Linked DNA regions of Homo sapiens: region 2 is linked to region 1. The links are contacts of gene promoters, found by promoter capture Hi-C in blood cells and fetal thymus (Javierre and others, 2016). All regions are on one chromosome and are shown on one strand. Each heading gives the region's core, a stretch centred on a gene start or on the middle of the fragment in contact. The rest is flanking DNA. Distances are from core to core; before and after follow the strand shown.

The links. The method cuts DNA at HindIII sites, captures the fragments that hold promoters and counts their contacts. A CHiCAGO score of 5 or more calls a contact.
Region 2: a contact is called between a fragment that was not itself captured here and the fragment with the promoter of H2AZ2 in region 1, in 1 of 17 cell types (activated CD4 T cells). The highest score is 5.5, in activated CD4 T cells.

Annotation. Positions count from the first base shown.
Region 1 is chr7:44,846,812-44,849,511 of GRCh38, forward strand. H2AZ2 (H2A.Z variant histone 2) reads right to left here and starts at 1,276. Exons shown (of 5, transcript NM_012412.5): 1 at 1,158-1,276. The coding sequence starts at 1,160. H2AZ2-DT (H2AZ2 divergent transcript) reads left to right here and starts at 1,660. Exons shown (of 2, transcript NR_187581.1): 1 at 1,660-1,710; 2 at 2,648-2,700. RefSeq lists enhancers at 859-1,416, 1,417-1,975 and silencers at 902-1,291, 1,552-1,611. The HindIII fragment of the contact is 6,622 bases long and covers 1-2,700 here.
Region 2 is chr7:43,929,724-43,932,423 of GRCh38, forward strand. All of the region lies in intron 1 of UBE2D4 (ubiquitin conjugating enzyme E2 D4), which reads left to right. Among named protein-coding and RNA genes, the nearest start is that of UBE2D4, 4.6 kb to the left of the region's middle. The HindIII fragment of the contact is 5,962 bases long and covers 1-2,700 here.

The DNA.
Region 1 (2,700 bases), core at 26-2,525:
ATCCCTAAAGTCTATTCCAGCTCTAAGATTTGGGTTTTTTACAATAACAATAAACTATACGTTAGACGTTGGAAGCAATTATCCCTAAAGTCTATTCCAGCTCTAAGATTTGGGTATTTTACAATAACCAAACATTGTCCTCTCGACTGGCCAATCTGTTTACAGTTAGGTGTTATGTCTATTCAATACCATATCTGTCACATCAAGCACAAGACAAATCATCTAATACTATCTGCAGTATGATAAATGACAGCTTGGTGCTAACTTTTAAGCAGGTAGCTCCCGTTGAAGTAACCTTTCAACAGAATGCTTAAAGCACGAATACCGGCAAAAATAAGATTCCATAACAGTCTTATTATTTTTACACAATCTTTGATGCAACTCAGAGCGTATCCTTTAGCACCTTCTCTTTTCCCCTCAACTTTAAAATGGGGCTGAAGTTCTATTCACTTTCATTTTTTTAAAGCCACACTCTTCTTATCTAGATCTGAATTTCAGAATGAAAAGATGAATACTTTAAGACTGAAAATCCATAGCAAGGGCAAAGGAAAGTACTGTTGTATAATGAAAACCGCAAACTGCAAGGGGCTCAGAAGATAACGGGCGTTCATTTCTAACCTGTGCAATCACCTAGAACAAATCGTGTGGTTCTGGTCTATAAAACCATTCTTTGTCGCTCAAAAGACCACAAATACAAGCACCCTTTCGCAGAAACCCTCAAACTGACTGCCAGGGAGATTACGTAACCAAACATCGCCAAAGACTTATCTAACTTGTACAGCGGCAGCCTGTTTGACCTCATTCATACAGAGAAGCGATCACATTAAGATCCAGCACTTGTTTCTACATTTCCAAGCCGGATTCTGCCGTCCTCCTCCTTCTAAGACGGGCGGTGCAGCGTCACAAGCGTCGGGACAGATCTATCCGGCTCGGAACAGACTTCGCGCTCTACCCGGCCAGGCCCAGCTCTCACCCGGGGACCCGTGTCGGGCTCCGCAGCTGGGACATGGCGCCCCCCGGCGGGCGGCGAGGGGCTCGGCCGGACGAAGCCCAGACACCCGCAAACTCCCGACTCCACAGGTAGCGGCGCCGACGCCAGGGCCTCCGCGCTCTGCTCTCCCAGGCCCCGTGCCCCCGGCCCACCCGGCCGCCCTTACCATGTTCTCGGCGCCGACTCCGCCTCCGCTCGGCCGCGCGCCCTCCCGCTGCCGACCCGCGCCGCCGCCGCCGCTCTCGCAGCACCGACCGCCGCCGCCGGAGCCGGACAATACCCCGTGCCCGCCTCGCGCTGCTGTGGCCAATGCCCGCTTGTCTTGCTGGTTCGAACCCCAGCGGCTGTTCAATCGCGCGCCTCCTTCTAGCCAGACCCCGCCCCCCCGGCACCGCCTTCCTAACGGCTGTTTGTTTTTGCACACGGCACGCGGAGGCGGGGCCTCCAGCCCCAATAGTGACGCGCTCTCTGCCTTTCACCAGGCGCCCAAGCCTGACGAACAGAAAGGCAAACCAATGAGATTGGACGCCTCGCAGACGAAAGCCAATAAAAATATCGCCCGCGAGCAAGGGAGGCGGGCCACTGGGAAGGACAGCAAAATTAGCTAATAAGGTGAAGCGATTGCAGGCGCTGTGGCTTTCCCGCCCATTCGCGGCGTTGGTTTTCCCGCTTCTGAGACTTGTTTGGGGAGGTAAAGAGTGTTGGACGTGCTTCTCCTGGTGGGTTTTCACAGACTGTGAGGATTTATTCGTCTTAGAACGTGTGGATCAGGAGGGCGCTGGGTTTCAAGGTTAGGCAGGCCTCATGCTCAGCCGTATTCTGGCGGACTGACTACCCTGACGTCCTCTCAGCGCGGACCCTGACAAGGTCCGCGGCAGGCTGAGGCGGGAGAATCGCTTGAACCCCGGAGGCGGAGGTTGCAGTGAGCCGAGATCGCGCCACTGCACTCCAGCTGGGCGACGCATCGTCTCAAAACAAACAAACAAAAACAAAAGCTATCAATTGGCTACATATTGTTATTTGTATGACAAATTCTTTTTCCTTTTTTAGAGATGGAGTCCTGGGACTACAGGCGCGCGCCCCAATGCCCAGCTAACTTTTGTATTTTTAATAGAGACGGGGTTTCTCCGTGTTGGTCAGGCTGGTCTCGAACTCCTGACCTCAGGTGATCTGCCCCCCTTTGCCTCCCAAAGTACTGGGATTACAGGCGTGAGCCACCGCGCCCGGCATGTATTACAAATTCTAAGAACACGAAGATAATGGGGCCGGCTTGGTGGCGCGAACCTGTAGCCTCACCTACTGTCAAGACTGAGACAGGAGGATCTCTTGAGCCCAGGAGGTCGAGGCTGCAGTGAGTCATGATCGCACCACTGCACTCCAGCTTGGGAGACAGAATATACCCTGTCTAAAAAATAATAATAAAAAAAAAGGTAATGGATGAGGCCGATAGTCAGGAATGAAATGACTTTAAACAATTGGGTATGCATGGGATTGGGTATGTGTGTATGTGGGGGCAGAGGGTGGGCATAACCGAAGTCCCATACTCATGTCCCTCTAGGCCTAATACATTTTGCAGACCTCACAGAGCTCAGACTGTTGTGAGCCGTTTTTCTTTTCTCAACCTCTTCAGTGTGTTTATTTTGCTTACATCATTAGGTTAAAATTTGGAGGATAACTCCCAGCTAGAAAGGAAGAAAAGCTCTAAAGTG
Region 2 (2,700 bases), core at 72-2,571, 920 kb before region 1:
TGTCACTATCAGGAAATTCTTAATAATTATCGAACTTGAGACCCTACATTTTCACATTCACAAGGCCCTGCAAATTCTGTAGCAATTCCTGGGGAAAAACAACAGAATTGTAGGAAATACAACTTTAAAAGTGTGTCAAGCCTGCCGTGGTGAGATGGCACCATTGGGCCACCACTAGTTAGGATGTCTTGGCTGCAAGTGACAGAGGCTGAGCTGCCCTTGTGCATGGAATTGGAGGTCCTGTGGCAGGACTTTGGGAGCAACTCAGTCCCCCTCTCCTGGTCTGTTCCTGTGTCACTCTGGGCTGAATGGCTCTGGAACACACAGCCTGCTGGACATCTGGGAGTAATAGAGACAACTGCTTCCAGAAGAACTGATAAGAATATTCTCAGAAAGCCCAGCAGATCTTTTTTTCCCTTTGCCTTGTTATGAATTATGTCTCATGCTCATTCCGAAACCAATGAGTGGCAAGGAGTCTGGTTACTCTTAGACCTGGAGCTGACAGTGAGTTGACCAGAACTGAACAGCAGTCCTTCAGAAAGGAGGAAGGCGGATGGGTGCTGAGCAGGTAGCCAGCAGTATGCAAGCCTGAGCCAGGTGTGTGGTGTCTACTAGCTGCCCCCTTAGTTTCCAATCCACAGCCCTTTCTAACCAACTTCAACCCTTTAAAAAAATGTTTTCAAATGAATGTTTCAAATTGAATATTTTTAGATGCACTTTTTAGTTAGTTAGTTAGTTAGTTAGTTTTTTGAGACAGGGTCTTGCTCTGTTACCTAGGCTGTAGTGCAGTGGCTCAATCATAGCTCACTGCAGCCTTGACCTCCTGGGCTCAAGCAGTCCTCCCACTTAGCTTTCCCAGTAGCTGGGATTACAGGTGCCTGCCACCACATCTGGCTAATTTAAAATTTTTTGTAGAGAGTGGATTTCACCATGTTGCCCAGGCTGGTCTCAAACTCCTAGGCTCATGTAATCCTCCCACCTCAGCCTCCTAAAGTGCTGGGATTACAGGTGTGAGCCACTGTTCTCAACCAGGACAGGGTTATATGTGGCAGCATTTCAATTTTTTAATGGTTTTTTTTCTCTTTGATACGTGTATTAGTCCATTCTTGCATTGCTGTTAGGAAATACCTGGCCAGGCACAGTGGCTCATGTCTGTAATCCCAGCATTTTGGGAGGCTGAGGCGGGCAGATCATCTGAGGTTAGGTCCTGGTCAACATGGTGAAACCCCATATCCACTAAAAATACAAAAATTAGCTGGGTATGGTGGCATGTGCCTGTAATCCTGGCTACTTGGAAGGCTGAGGCAGGAGACTTGCTTGAACCCGGGAGGCAGAGGTTTCAGTGAGCGATCATGCCACTACACTCCAGCCTGGGTGATAGAGTGAGACTCTGTCTCAAAAAAAAAAAAAAGAAAAAAAGAAATACCTGAAGGCTGGATGAGGTGGCCCATGCCTGTAATCCTAGCACTTTGGGAGGCTAAGGCAGGTGGATGGCCTGAGCTCAGGAGTTCAAGACCAGCCTGGGCAACATGGCAAAACCCCAGCTCTACCAAAAATAGAAAAAATTAGACAGGCATGGTTCTTGGCATGTGCCTATGGTCCCAGCTACTCAGGTGGCTGAGGTGGAAGGATCGCTTGAGCCAGACAGAGGTGGAGGTTGCAGTGAGCCGATATCGTGCCACTGCACTCCAACCTGGGTGACAGAGTAAGACCGTATCTTAAAAAACAAACAAACAAACAAAACAGAAAACCTGAGATGAGGTAATTTAGGAAGAAGAGTTTTAATTGGCTCACAGTTCCGCAGGCTGTACAGGAAGTATGGCACTAGTGTCTGCTCTGCTTCAGAGGAGGGGAAACTCACACTCACTGTGGAAGGCAAACCGGGGTGGGGGGGCGGGGGGGGTGGCAGAGCAGGCATGTCACATGGCCAGAACAGGAGCAAGAGAGAGAACAAGGGGAGGTGCTCCACACTTTTATTTATTTATTTATTTATTTTTGAGACAGGGTCTCTGTCACCCAGGCTGGAGTGCAGTGGTGCAATTTCTGATCACTGCAGCCTCCGTCTCTCTGGTTCAACTGATTCTCCTGTGTCAGCCTCTGGAGTAGTGTGTGCCACCATGCCTGGCTACTTTTTTTTGTATTTTTAGTAGAGACGGGGTTTTGCCATGTTGCCAGGCTGGTCTTGAACTCCTGAGCTCAAGCGATCCACCCACTTGGGCCTCCCAAAGTGCTGGGATTACAGGCATGAGCCACTGTGCCTGGCCATGACACACTTTTTTTTTTGAGACAGAGTCTTGCTCTGTCGCCCAGGCTGGAGTGCAGTGGCACGATCTCGGCTCACTGCAAGCTCTGCCTCCCAGGTTCACACCATTCTCCAGCCTCAACCTCCCTGAGTAGCTGGGACTACAGGCGCCTGCCACCACACCCAGCTAATTTTTTGTATTTTTAGGAGAGACGGGGTTTCACCATGTTAGCCAGGATGGTCTCGATCTCCTGACCTCGTGATCCACCCGCCTTGGCCTCCCAAAGTGCTGGGATTACAGGCACAAAGTGAGCCACTGTGCCTGGCCCATGACATACTTTGAAACAACCAGATCTTGTGAGAAGAGGATAATACCAAGTGGATTGTACTAAACCAATCACTTCCCACCAGGCCCCACCCTCAACGTTGGAGATTACAATTTGACAAGAGTTTTGTGT